Linked DNA regions of Homo sapiens: region 2 is linked to region 1. Evidence: promoter capture Hi-C in 16 types of primary human blood cells and fetal thymus (Javierre and others, 2016). All regions are on one chromosome and are shown on one strand. The core of a region is centred on a gene start or on the middle of the fragment in contact, and the rest is flanking DNA. Distances in the headings are between cores, read along the strand shown.

What was found. The method cuts DNA at HindIII sites, captures the fragments that hold promoters and counts their contacts. A CHiCAGO score of 5 or more calls a contact.
Region 2: a fragment that was not itself captured here is called in contact with the fragment with the promoter of UBE4B in region 1 in 5 of 17 cell types (M2 macrophages, naive B cells, endothelial precursors and 2 more); the score reaches 6.2 in M2 macrophages.

The regions. Positions count from the first base shown.
Region 1 is chr1:10,030,169-10,036,734 of GRCh38, forward strand. UBE4B (ubiquitination factor E4B) reads left to right here and starts at 2,790. Exons shown (of 28, transcript NM_001105562.3): 1 at 2,790-3,526. The coding sequence starts at 3,503. RefSeq lists silencers at 2,408-2,797, 2,828-3,047 and enhancers at 2,562-3,216, 3,608-3,657. The HindIII fragment of the contact is 8,691 bases long and covers 1-3,976 here.
Region 2 is chr1:9,886,186-9,892,751 of GRCh38, forward strand. All of the region lies in intron 1 of CTNNBIP1 (catenin beta interacting protein 1), which reads right to left. Among named protein-coding and RNA genes, the nearest start is that of CTNNBIP1, 21 kb to the right of the region's middle. RefSeq lists an enhancer at 608-1,196. The HindIII fragment of the contact is 670 bases long and covers 4,562-5,231 here.

The DNA of each region.
Region 1 (6,566 bases), core at 1,540-4,039:
AAAAAGCCGGGCACAGTGGCTCATGCCTGTAACCCCAGCATTTTGGGAGGCGGAGGTGGGCGGATTACGAGGTCAAGAGATCCACGAGAGCATCCTGGCCAACGTGGTGAAATCTCATCTCTACTAAGAATACAAAAATTAGCCAGGCATGCTGGTGGGCGCCTGTAGGCCCAGCTACTTGGGAGGCTGAGGCAGGAGAATCACTTGAACCTGGGAGGTGGAGGTTGCAGTGAGCTGAGATCGCGCCACTGCACTCCAGCCTGGTGACAGAGCAAGACTCCATCTCAAAAAAAAAAAAAAAAAAAAAAAAGAACAGAGAATATGAATGAATAGGTATTTGTCCAAAGAAGATAAACCTAAGCAGATGTTCAACATCATTAGCTCCTAGGAAAATGAAAAACAAAACCACAAAGAGATACCATTTCACATCTACTGGTGTGGCTACAATAAAAAAGACAGACAAAAACCATTGTTGGTAGAGATGTAGAGAAGTTAGAACCCTCACACATTGCTGGTGGCAGTGCAGCTGCTTTGGAAAACAGTTTGACAGTTTCTCAAAAAGTCAAACATGTAATCCTGCAATTCCTCTCCTAGGTATATGCCTAAAAGGAATAAAAATAAAAACATATGTCCAAACAAACACTTGTACATGAATGTTTATAGCAGCATTACTCATAATTGTCAAAAGGTGGAAACAACCCAAATATCACTATGAATTGATAAACAAAATGCGCTACAGCAATACAGTGATACATTTGGCATTAAAGAAATGAAGTACAGATATATGCTACAATATGCGTGAACCTTGAAAACATATGCTAAGTGAAGGAAGCCAAACCCCAAAGGCCACACGGTGTATTGCTCCACTGATGTGAAATGTCCAGAATAGGCAAATTCACCAAGACAGAAGGTAGTTATCCTGCAGGAGTCTTTTTTTTTTGTGACGGAGTCTCGCTCTGTTGCCCAGGCTGGAGTGCAGTGGCACGATCTCGGCTCCTTGCAACTTCTGCCTCCCGGGTTCAAGCAATTCTTTGCCTCAGACTCCCAAGTAGCTGGGATTACAGGTGCCCGCCACCACGCCCTTCTAATTTTTGTATTTTGTATTTCACCATCTTGGCCAGGCTGGTCTTAAACTCCGGACCTCTTGATCCACCCGCCTTGGCCTCCCAAAGGGCTGGGATTACAGGCGTGAGCCACTGCGCCCAGCCCGGGAGTGACTGTTAATGGCTTTGAGGGTTTCTTTTTGGGATGATGAAAATGTTCTGAAATTGGACAGTGAGGATGACTGAACTGTGAACATAATAAAACCACTGTACACCTTAATTGGGTGAATTGTATGGTATGTAAATTAGATGGCAATAATGAGGTTAAAAAAAGTAAACTTTTAACATCAATGTCACCAGGGGTTCAAGTTCTGGCTTACACAGAATTCCTTTCCTGGAGAGCAGATAATATGCAAAGCCAGCAGTGATTTATTTTTACTCACAAATTCCTTACATATTTTTACTCACAAATTCCTTACATATCTAGTAGTCAGGTTCCTATTTTAAGCATGTAGCAAATACATTGTAACTCTTAATTCTGGAATGCAGTCTTTATGGCTTAGTGAGCCATCCAATCCACTTATAGTCTTCGTCAGCGGCAAAATCTGGAATTTCATGGTACTGTTACTTTGATCGCTCAACTTAGATTTATATTTTATAAATATATATATACATACATATATATATATTTTTTGAGATGGAGTCGCGCTCTGTCGCCCAGGCTGGAGTGCAGTGGCGCGATCTCGGCTCACTGCAAGCTCCGCCTCCCGGGTTCACGCCATTCTCCTGCCTCAGCCTCCCGAGTAGCCGGGACTACAGGCGCCCGCCGCCACATCTGGCTGATTTTTTGTATTTTTTAGTAGAGACGGGGTTTCACCGTGTTAGCCAGGATGGTCTCGATCTCCTGACCTCGTGATCCGCCCGCCTCGGCCTCCCAAAGTGCTGGGATTACAGGCGTGAGCCACCGCGCCCGGCCAAATATTTGTATTCTTGTGCACCGGAGGATGGTTTTCCCCCACTGACTCCAAACGTCTTCCTTGCATTTGCTGTGTACAATTCAGTGATTTGGGTCTCTCATCCATTTATACTTTCAAATTTTACCAATACTTTTTGAACACACTTAAAAAAAAAAAAACCCAGGAAGTATCTCTAAAAGGCCAAGGTAAAATAAAATGAATGGGAGTTCTTGTGTTCGAGTTTTCTTCCAACTGGGCTTTCCTGGAGGAGGTGGAAGAGTGTGTGGCAGATGTTTCAGAAAATGAGCGCTCAATACGGTAGATCACGCTCCCGGGGTCAAGGAGACGTTTTCCGTTTTCTTTTCCCTCGCTTAGGCGGCGGGCGCGCACAGTCCAGTGGGAGCGATGAGGTGTTTCTAGGCCCCCAAGTCACAGAAAAGCAGGCGATTGGGAACAACGGAGGCGCGGCGGGCCCCCGGGCCGCGGGCCAGCGCCACCTTCTGGTGGATCTTCCCCGACGCGAGTCTGGGAGTCGTCCCTCCCCTTGCCAGCCTACCTGGCTCAGGCCCGCCGCGCCCGCAGCCCCAGCGCGGTCGCCGTGGCAACGCCCCGCCCAGCCGCCAGCCTCCCTTTGCCCCTCCCCACGTCCGGCGCGGCTGCGCGGGACGGGGTGGGACGGAGGCGGGGAGAGGACGCAGGCGAGAGGAACTCGGCGGCGCGGCGCCCGCGGCCTATTGGCTGCCACGTCCCGGCGCCAGAAGCCCCGCCTCCCTGACGGGGGTCACGTGATCCCTTTCAAAGATGGCCGCCCTGTTGTTTTGATGAATAATACTTGGTGGGGCGAGGGGGAAAGAGTAGGGGTGGAGGGGTAGGAGGATTTACTCTTCCAGCGAGAGCTACGCGCATCCCATCCTCCCCCTCCCCCCTACCCGGGCTCCGGCGTGGAGGCGGGGCGTGGCCGGCCTGCTTTGGGAGGGGAGGGGCTTCCCTTACAGTGCTGGGCTCTGCCAGGACGGCTGTGGGGTCGCCTTACCTCGGGGTATCCACTCTGCAGTCGACCAGTTCCCGCCAGGAGCAAAGGGTAGGAAGGAGAGCAGGATCTGCTGTAGGAACGCAGCTACCGCGCCACTATCACGAAGAAACAGCAGGCTCGGGGCACGAGACGAACTGGAGACCGCGCTGCCTAGCTGGGTAACCTGGGAAGCAGAGGGTAATAAGTGGCGCCTTAAGACAACCCTGTAGCAGCAGCAGTGGCGGCCAAAGGAGGCTGCTCAGGGAACAAGCGGCTGTAGTAGTCTGTGGGGCGACTGGAGTGACCGAAGCCAAGGCAGTTTAGTGCCTCTCGTGTTCTTATTTTTTAACCTCTGACTATGCAATTCTGAAACCTCCCCCATTCGGGGGACCAGACAGCCTGATAGACACCTTCCACTCTCCTTCCTCCCGCCGTGGTCTCGAGAACAGAAGGATCTCTCCTTAACGCCTTTCACCATTAAGAGGAAAGCGATGGAGGAGCTGAGCGCTGATGAGGTGAGGAGGTTGGGGGACACCTTGAGGGATTAGTTGGCAACTCGTTAGCGCTTTGGACAGGGATGGTATTGCGCCAGTGCTGTCTGGCCTTTGGGCTTGGAGAAGGAACGGAGATGATATTTTCCAAGAATAACGTGACTCCCCGATAGGGTCTCTGGTTTTGTTCTCCTTTATTCTGTTGCCTTCTTTCTTCATTCTGAACTCCATTTGCTTCTTTCCGAGTGTTCTTTTAGGGTATGAACAAGAGGAGAGAGCATCTTGAGGTGTTTATTCTTTTCTTCAGGGTATGCGAACAAGAAGGGCGAGATTTACATGAAGTTAAAGTGTGTGTGTGTCTGTGTCTTCAGGAATTTAAAGAACAATTTTGGATGGAATGAGAATGTATGGTGGGTGAATATTTTTAAAGAAAGCATTTGAAATTCCAGATATGTGTGGTTATTGCACTGTATAAGCTTGATTAAACATATATTTTTGCTTGAGGGGTGGTTTACAGACAGATTCTTTGATATTTAACAAAATATGTATCTTCTCCACAGTTTAGAGAATTCCAGTTATATTCTGGTACTTAATAGACCACTAATGACTTCTGGCATTCTTCTGTTACATTCTATCTTTTCCTACTTCTTGAATCTTTCAAACTTGTGTTTTGCTGTAGCAGAGACTGAACGGGAAGCAAGTGGAAGCAAATGACTTTCTAAACTCTCTCCTGTTCTCATTTCTTAAAGGAGTTATACAGATCTACTTCTTGATGTTTTAAAGATTGTTTAATAAATTAGGTTGTTGTAAAAAAAAAAACAACCAAAAAGCAGTGGCAATTAGGGTACAAGGAATTTCCTATGATTCTACTGCCTTTTCTCTTCCTTTTTGCAAATTAGGAGCTTCCCTTTCAGGACCCCTACTGGCCATACCCTCTTTAGCCTACCTCCACATTTCTTCACTGGTTCATCATGTAAACTTCCCTACAGTATTAGGAAAGCAGTCATCCATCAAGTTGATTGTACTACAAGACTTCCATGCTCCAGTTTTAGCTACAGAGTACTTAGTGTGTTTACTTAGGGACTGAAATTCTCCTGGGATAGGACACGCAGTGGTGTGTTAAGGGTCAGGTAGGAAAGGAAGCAAATGATTTTGTTGATTGTGATACTTGGATACTTGGTTTGGAAAATCAGGACTGCCCATTCGGCGTTACTTTGTTTTTTTCGAATACAGCAGAAATGTAATCTTAAGTGAAGAGAATATTACACAGTTTCTTTCATTCGGTAGGAAATCTCCTTAGAATCGCTTTATTTTATGTGGGTTTTTTTTTGTTTGTTTGTTTTTTTGAGACGGAGTCTTGCTCTGTCGCCCAGGCTGCAGTGCAGTGGCGCGATCTCGTCTCACTGCAAGCTCCGCCTCCCGGGTTCACACCATTCTCCTGCCTCAGCCCCCTGAGTAGCTGGGACTACAGGCGCCCGCTACCACGCCCGGCTATTTTTTGTATTTTTAGTAGAGATGGGGTTTCACCATGTTGGCCAGGATGGTCTCCATCTCTTGACCTCGTGATGCACCCGCCTCAGCCTCCCAAAGTGCTGGGATTACAGGCGTGAGCCACCGCGCCTGGCCTGTTTTATGTGGTTTTTTAAAAGTTTCTCTACCTCCCCCGTTTTTCATTAATGTTAATTCTAGTGAGTAATTTCTCTTAAGGCAGAGATACTGTTTTTTTTTTTTTTTTTTTTTTTTTGAGGCGGAGTCTCGCTCTGTCGCCCAGGCTGGAGTGCAGTGGCGCTATCTCAGCTCACTGCAAGCTCTGCCTCCCGGGTTCACGCCATTCTCCTGCCTCAGACTCCGGAGTAGCTGGGACTACAAGCGCCCGCCACCACTCCCGGCTAGTTTTTTGTATTTTTTTGTGTTTTTAGTAGAGACGGGGTTTCACTGTGTTAGCCAGGATGGTCTCGATTTCCTGACCTTGTGATCTGCCCGCCTCGGCCTCCCAAAGTGCTGGGATTACAGGCGTGAGCCACCGTGACCGGCCAGAGATAGTTTTTTTATTTTTTTTTATTTTTTATTTATTTTATTTTATTTTTTTTGAGACGGAGCCTCGCTCTGTTGCCCAGGCTAGAGTGCAGTGGCGCGATCTCAGCTCACTGCAAAGCTCCGCTTCCCGGGTTCACGCCATTCTCCTGCCTCAGCCTCCCGAGTAGCTGGGACTACAGGCGCCCGCCACCACGCCCGGCTAATTTTTTGTGTTTTTAGTAGAGACGGGGTTTCACCGTGTTAGCCCAGGATGGTCTCAATCTCCTGACCTCGTGATCCGCCCGCCTCGGCCTTCCAAAGTGCTGGGATTACAGGTGTGAGCCACCGCGCCCGGCCGAGGTAGTTTTTTAGTAGTCCTTTACTCCTATAAATTACTTTTTTTTTTTTTTTTTGATGATCTGTTAATAGTCCTTGGTTTAGAGGCTTTTGCATACTTGAGTTTTCACCAAAAAATTCTTTTCAAACCAGTGAGGCATTACAGACCAGTGAAGATATTGTATAATCTAAAATGTGTCTCTTCACTTTCATCAGTCCTTGAGGAAGGTGTAACTTTTTTTTGTGACCATATGAGGAACACATGTAACCTTTGTGGAAGAAATAGAATAAACTTTTTTCAAGGTCAACAGAATATTAAAATAAATGAAAAAAATTAAATTCACTAATACAGGATCAATGTAAAATTATCTTCAACAAATTAGTTGTCCAGAACACAAAGGGCTGGTTCAATAACTGTTAATTTTACTCTCAGCAGAACCTAGAACAAATAATATTCGTTTGTTTTTAATTTAAAAAATCTTTTTTTTTTTTGTAGAGACGGGGGTCTTGCCATGTTTCCCAGGATGGTCTCAAACTCCTGACCTCAAGCGATCCTCCCACTTCAGCCTCCCAAAGTGGGAGCCAGACAAATAGTTATTTTGGGAAAAATATCTTTGAAGTTTTTCTTTTTAATTCAATTAAAAATTTTTGAGGTTAGGTAAGCAGTTCTCATGAGACATTTCCAAAGCTTTTGCCTTTGTATTGTTACTCT
Region 2 (6,566 bases), core at 3,647-6,146, 140 kb before region 1:
GGACAGAGAGGCGGGAGGGGACCTTGCTTCCACAGTCTGAGTGCTGCCCCGAATCACTGGGAACACTTCTCAGCAGGGTGCCGCTGACATTTCAGACTGGGTGCGTTTCTGCTGGAGGGCTGTCTGCACATTGCAGAAGCTGAGAGGCATTCCTGGCCTCCACCCACTAGATGCCAGTAGCAGCCCCCCTCCAGTTGTGACAATCGAATCGAATATATCTTCTGACGTTGCCATGTGTCCCGTAGGGGACAAAATTGCCAGGTCGAGAGCACTGCTTTAAAGAAGCAGCTGACACGTACTCTGGCTTACTCTGTGCCTTGCACCATTGGCAACTCTCAGGTAAGTGAATCATTCAGTCTTCGCCACACACGTCCCTACAGGGCTTTACAAATGGGCATGCCATGGTGCACAGAGGTGACATAACTCACCTGTCATGGCCCAGCTAGTCCACATCGGAGCAGGATGGAACCCAGATTGTTCAAGGTCTCAACCGCTCTGCCCTGTTGCTCTCCAGTATACAAGTACCTGGGTAAAAAGTCACTCTGAGCCAGCGAGGGGGACGGGGGGCAGAGGCCTGCCGCAGCTCCTGCTAGAGTCCCACACAAGGTAGCACCTCAGGTCCTCTAGCGACATCAAAAAAGGGAGTGCCAGAGGGAATTTCCACACGCTCCACTCTCAGTAATTAAACTGCAACAACCTCCCAGACTCTCAGGCCTCAGGAGCAACCGCCTTAATTAATATATTCCACGTTGCAGCCTCCTCCATCCACAGCCACGCTCGGTATTCCCGAACCGCACTCCACCAGCAGAGCTAGGACAAAACAGGCCTCCTAGTGAGGCATGGCATTTGCAGGCCACAGCCCCATTCTTAGGGGATAAGCCTGGGATGGGGAATGTGTCTTGAGGTCACCAACCCCAATTCAAACCTGATGCAAAGCTCCTTCCTGCTCCCTGAAGCCAGGTGATGCTACCGAAGAATAATTACTGTTGTCACCACAGCATTTTCTAAGTCCAGGCACAGAGTGGCAGAGTCAGTCAGCCCTCACAAGCCTGCAAGGTAGGAATTATTCCCATTTTATGGATGACAAAACTGAGGCTCAGAGAAGGTAAGTAACCTGCCTGAGGCCATGGAGTAATAAGTGGTAAGCCTGGATCCAAGGCCATGCTTTCCCTCTCTCCTAACAGCCCCTTCTGGCTCAGGAGTTGACAGACGCATTATCCATTTTAACTGAAATTAAAAGAAAAATGTGGGCCGGGCACAGTGGCTCACGCCTGTAACCCCAGCACTTTGGAAGGTGGAGGCGGGCAGATCAGGAGGTCAAGAGATCGCCAACATAGTAAAACCCTGTCTCTACTAAAATTACAAAAATTAGCTGGGCATGGTGGCACACGCCTGTAATCCCAGCTACTCGGGAGGCTGAGGCAAGAGAATTGCTTGAACCCAGGAGGCAGAGGTTGCAGTGAGCTGAGATCTCGCCACTGCACTCCAACCTGGCAAAAGAGCAAGATTCCGTCTCAAGAAAAAAAAAAGAAAAAGAAAAATCCACCTTACAGGAAAAAGAAAAACGGCTAGAGTCCAACCCACTGCCAATCAGAGATTAATTCGAAAATAAGGCTTACAATTATTATATACCAATAGAAATTAATTAATTATTTTTGAGATGGAGTCTCACACCGTCACCCAGGCTGGAGTGCAGTGGTGCGATCTCAGCTCACTGCAACCTCCGCCTCCCGGGTTCAAGTGATTATCCTGCCTCAGCCTCCTAATAGCTGGGATTACAGGCACCCACCACCACACCCAGCTAATTTTTGTATTCTTAGTAAAGACGGGGTTTCACCATGTTGGCTAGGCTGGTCTTGAAATCCTAACCTCAAGTGATCCACCTGCCTCAGCCTCCCAAAGTGCTGGAATTACAGGCATGAGCCACCACACCCCGCTAATTAATTTTTAAAAAGAAAATATGGTCTGGGCACAGTGGCTCATGCCTGTAATCCCAACGCTTTGGGAGGCTGAGGTGGGAGTATCACTTGAGGCCAGGAGTTTGAGCCTGGGCAACAAGGTGAAACCCCATCTCTACAAAAAATAAAAAAAAAAATTTAAAAGCTGGGCATGGTGGCCGGGCGCGGTGGCTCATGCCTGTAATCCCAGCACTTTGGGAGGCTGAGGTGCGCGGATCACCTGAGGTCAGGAGTTCAAGACCAGCCTGGCAAACATGGTGAAACCCCGTCTCTACTAAAAAATACCAAAAATTAGCTGGGTGTGAGGCTGAGGCAGGAGAATCGCTTGAGCCCAGGAGGCAGAGACTGCAGTGAGCCGAGATCGCGCCACTGCACTCCAGCCTGGGTGACAGAGCAAGACTGCCTCAAAAAAAAAAAAAATTAAGAAATGGTAATGTAAGGCGATGGGGAGAGGCCCTGCATCTGTCTACACACAGTGCCATCTGCATCGCATCCCAGACCACCCCATGTTAGCCACAGCTAGCCCTCCTCCAGTGGGGGCAGCCATGAAGCCCAAATGCAGGAGGACCCTTTCCTCTCTGGCTACAGGTCTGCTGCCGTGGGAGTGATTCTGGAATTCTCAACAGTTTGCCCTATGCACACTCCGAGATCAGAGTAGCCCGCCTGTCCCCTTCACAGCAGTGCCGTGCACGCTGTTCCAGGTCCAGAGCTCTCTGATGAAGGCCCTTTCGGAAGGTTCTGGGAGCATTTAAATCAAATCCACCTGACCTCATTCAATACAGCCCCGCAATGGCCAGAATGCAATGCTGCACCCAGCTGAGCCGCCTACCTACTGCAGGAAAGGTACTGACACGGCAACCAGGCTGGGAGGGAGGCGCCTGGAACCACTGGGGCATCCTCCTTTCTATGAAGGGGCTCCTGTTCAGAGCAAGCTCTGCAGGCCACCAGCAGGCATGCCACACACACCAAAGTGCTCCAGCACAGGCACAAACCTGCCTGGAGACAGCTTCCCCAGGACCTGCACGCTGGACAGGAAGCAAAAAGAAAGGGCTCCTTCTGTCCCTCCCACGCACTGAGGCAGGCGGTCAGATCCAAGCTTACCCTCATATTCCCTCTACAGCCGTGGCTCTCAATGGGGGCGATTCTGCCCCACGGCAGAAATGTGGCAATATCTAGAGACATTTTTGATTGTCACGACTAGTAGGGTCCTGCTGGGTAGAGGCCAGGATCAGTGCCCACCACCAATAATTATCCAGCCCCACGTCTGGAGAGCTGAGTGAGAAGCCCTACTAGGGGGCCATCTCGGAGCTGCCGATTGCACCAGGCTCCCTCCACATCTCTGGGCCTCTGCATCTGCTATGCTTTCCACCTAGAACTTCCTTCCCTCCCTGATTCCTGAGACCAAGCCTCACAGATGTTCTCTGCTCTACAACACCTTCTCTGGGCTGCCTCGAGGCCTGTGTCTGCACATCCGCCTGCATTTCCTCTTCTCGCATCACCGCCCCAACACTGTACCTGGATATCTGAGAAATGTTCACCACCAGACTGGAAGCTCTTTGAGGACAGACCGGGGGTGGTTTTAAGGCCTTTATAGGCCCCAGGGAACCTTATTCTCAGAGACATACTAAAACAAACCCACATCTCTTATTAAATGTAATCCTCACGTAACTCACAAGAGTAGAGGGAGTGATATATTTTTTTCCCACATGGCCAATATTTTTGTGGACCCTAGAAAAACTTGTAAGGCTCTGTGCTGAAGAATCTGGACAGGTGAGACACCACTGCTAGCCACAACTGGGGCTCCTCGAGTGGTGAAGTGAATGGGAACCATGAAGGAAGTGCCCCCCAGCCTTTGCATGGCCTCACTTCAGATAATCCTAACACACCAAGGAGCTGGAGGAACCTGCATGTTCCTATAACTGGATTGGCATGAGGCATCTGTTTACATCTTCTGGTTTAAAATATTTATCCTTGTGATTCTGGCCCAGATCTCGTTGTCTCTCCAGTCCTGAATTGAGTGAAACCCACCTTTTTACAGAGGCAAGAGTACCTGGCAGGCCTGCTCTGACAGCCTCTTGAAATTCAGCTGAAAACAATGCAAACAGGAAGGCATGTGGAGCCTGAGGAAGTTTCCTTGGCTGCCCCAGAACACTGAAGATCCTGGGCTATGTCTTCAGGCTCTACTGTTCTAACCAAGGGGACGTGCTGGTGGAGGTTTTCTCTCTGCACAGTGGGGGGACAAGGACAGAAGAAAAGAAAGGCATCTTTCGGCTTAATTTTAAAAGAGGTTCTTTTTTCTTCCCAGAGAACAGCTGGAGCCCTGGAACCTGGCCAAGTCAGAGCCTGAGACCTGAAGTCAGGAACCAGCACGCCTACAAAATCCAGCCACGGATCTTCCTTTAATTCAGTCTGACTCATTACCTTCAGCCTCTGGCAGGTTCCAGAGGGGTTACTAATGCAGAATCCAGAGCCTTCTTCTATTTATAAGCCAATGGAAGGGCTGGAATCCTAGCTCTTGCATGGGTACAAGCGCCCCCTCACTCCTGGGTATGAGGCCTCCCAGGCCTGACCGACCTTCCCCATGGGCTGTGCACCTGGCAGGAAGCTTCCTGAGCAAAGGCATCAAAAGATCCTCTGTGTCAACTGGAGGTAGAGGAACGCTTTTTCTCTCCTGGGACACCAGAGAGATCCCCAGCAAGCTGACTAAGTCCCCAAAAGGCAAATTAATTTGCATTTCTGTCAGGAAGGGACCACTTCCAGACCTAGTAATTCCAGGGATGGAGCCTGGCCCAGAGGTTCTGGAGAGCATGGGTCACCTCCAGAGAGTGCGGGTCACCTCCAGAGAGTGCGATCAGACTGGAAATTTTGACCTATGGAAGCTCCATCAATCCCGCTGTCAAAAGCTATGCCAGCTCTTTGCAGGGTCACAGCTTAAAATTTTAATTACATTAGGAAATTTAAAAGTACTTCAAGAAGAAAGGGGGAAAACTGACACAGTGCTATTTTTGGCGGGGGTGGGGGGCACTCACGTTTCTCCACAAGGTACATAAGGTCCCTTCACTCTGAACCACACTGACATGTTCACGCCACCCCATTCCCACAAGGACAAGCCTCATCCTCAGAGGCAGGCCTGGGCATGGCCCGGCCCTCCCATTGCCTGAGGGTCACCCAGATCTTCTCAACAGGCACCTCTCTCTCCAGCTCTTCTCCCCTTGCCCCATTCCCTCCATAGCTTTCCCTCATTAAAGCCTCTATAATTGGTTCAAACAAACAAGCTTCCTGAACTGAGTTTGCTGCATCCCCTCAGAATCCCAGGGCTGGGAAAGCCTCCAGCTTCCTGTGGTGAGGATTAGGTCATTAAATCAATTGGATCGGCTGCAGGACTGTGCCCCCGGAAGCAGCCCCCTCCTCACCACCCGGCTCTGGGGATGGTCATCCTCAGGACCTGGCTGAGAGACCCCAGGTGCAGCCTCCTGGGGAAACGCTTCCCAATCAAACTCTTCGGAAAATAAGTTTTGTTGGGCACAGTGGCAAATGCCTGTAATCCCAGCACTTTGGGAGACTGAGGTAGGAGAATTGCTTGAGGCCTGGACTTCAAAACCAGCCTGGGCAATAAAGTAAGACCCCATCTCTTTAAATTTTTTTTTTTTTTTTTTTTTTTTTTTTTGGAGATGGGGTCTCGCTCTTTCCCTCTGTCGCCCAGGCTGGAGTGCAGTGGCGCAATCTCGTTTCACTGCAACCTCTGCCTTCCAGTCTCAGGTGATTCTCCTGCCTCGGCCTCCCGAGTAGTTGGGACTACAGGTGCGTGCCACCATGTCCAGCTAATTTTATTTTGTATTTTTAGTAGGGACAGGGTTTTGCCATGTTGGCCAGGCTGGTCTCAAAATCCTGACCTCATGTGATCTGCCTACCTCAGCCTCCCAAAGTGCTGGCATTATAGACATGAGCCACCGAGCCTGGCTTCTACAAAAAATCTTTAAAAGATTAGCTGGGTGCAGCCTGGGCGCGGTGGCTCACGCCTCTAATCCCAGCACTTTGGGAAGCTGAGGCGGGCGGATCATGAGGTCAGGAGATCAAGACCATCCTGGCTAACACGGTGAAACCCCGTCTCTACTAAAAATACAAAAAATTAGCCAGGCGTGGTGGTGGGTGCCTGTGGTCCCAGCTACTCGGGAGGCTGAGGCAGGAGAATGGCGTGAACCCGGGAGGCAGAGCTTGGAGTGAGCCGAGATCGCGCCACTGCATTCCAGCCTGGGGGACAGAGCGAGACTCCGTCTAAAAAAAAAAAAAAAAAAAGATTAGCTGGGTGTGCAGTGGCTTGCACCTGTAGGCCCAGTTACTTGGGAGGCTGAGGTGGGAGGATCCCAAGAGCCCAGGAGTCTGAGGTTGCAGTGAGCTATGATCACACCACTGCACCCCAGCCTGGGCAACAGAGCGAGACTGTCTCAAAAAAAAAAAAAGAAAAGAAGTTTTAAGGCCACTGCCTCTTTCCAACAGGCTGTCAGCATAAAGGTATGTGTTAATTTGCATAAAGATATAGGTGTATCTGTTTACTTCGCAAATACACCCATCTGTGCTACAGAGGCCAGGGTTCCTGGCTCCACGCAT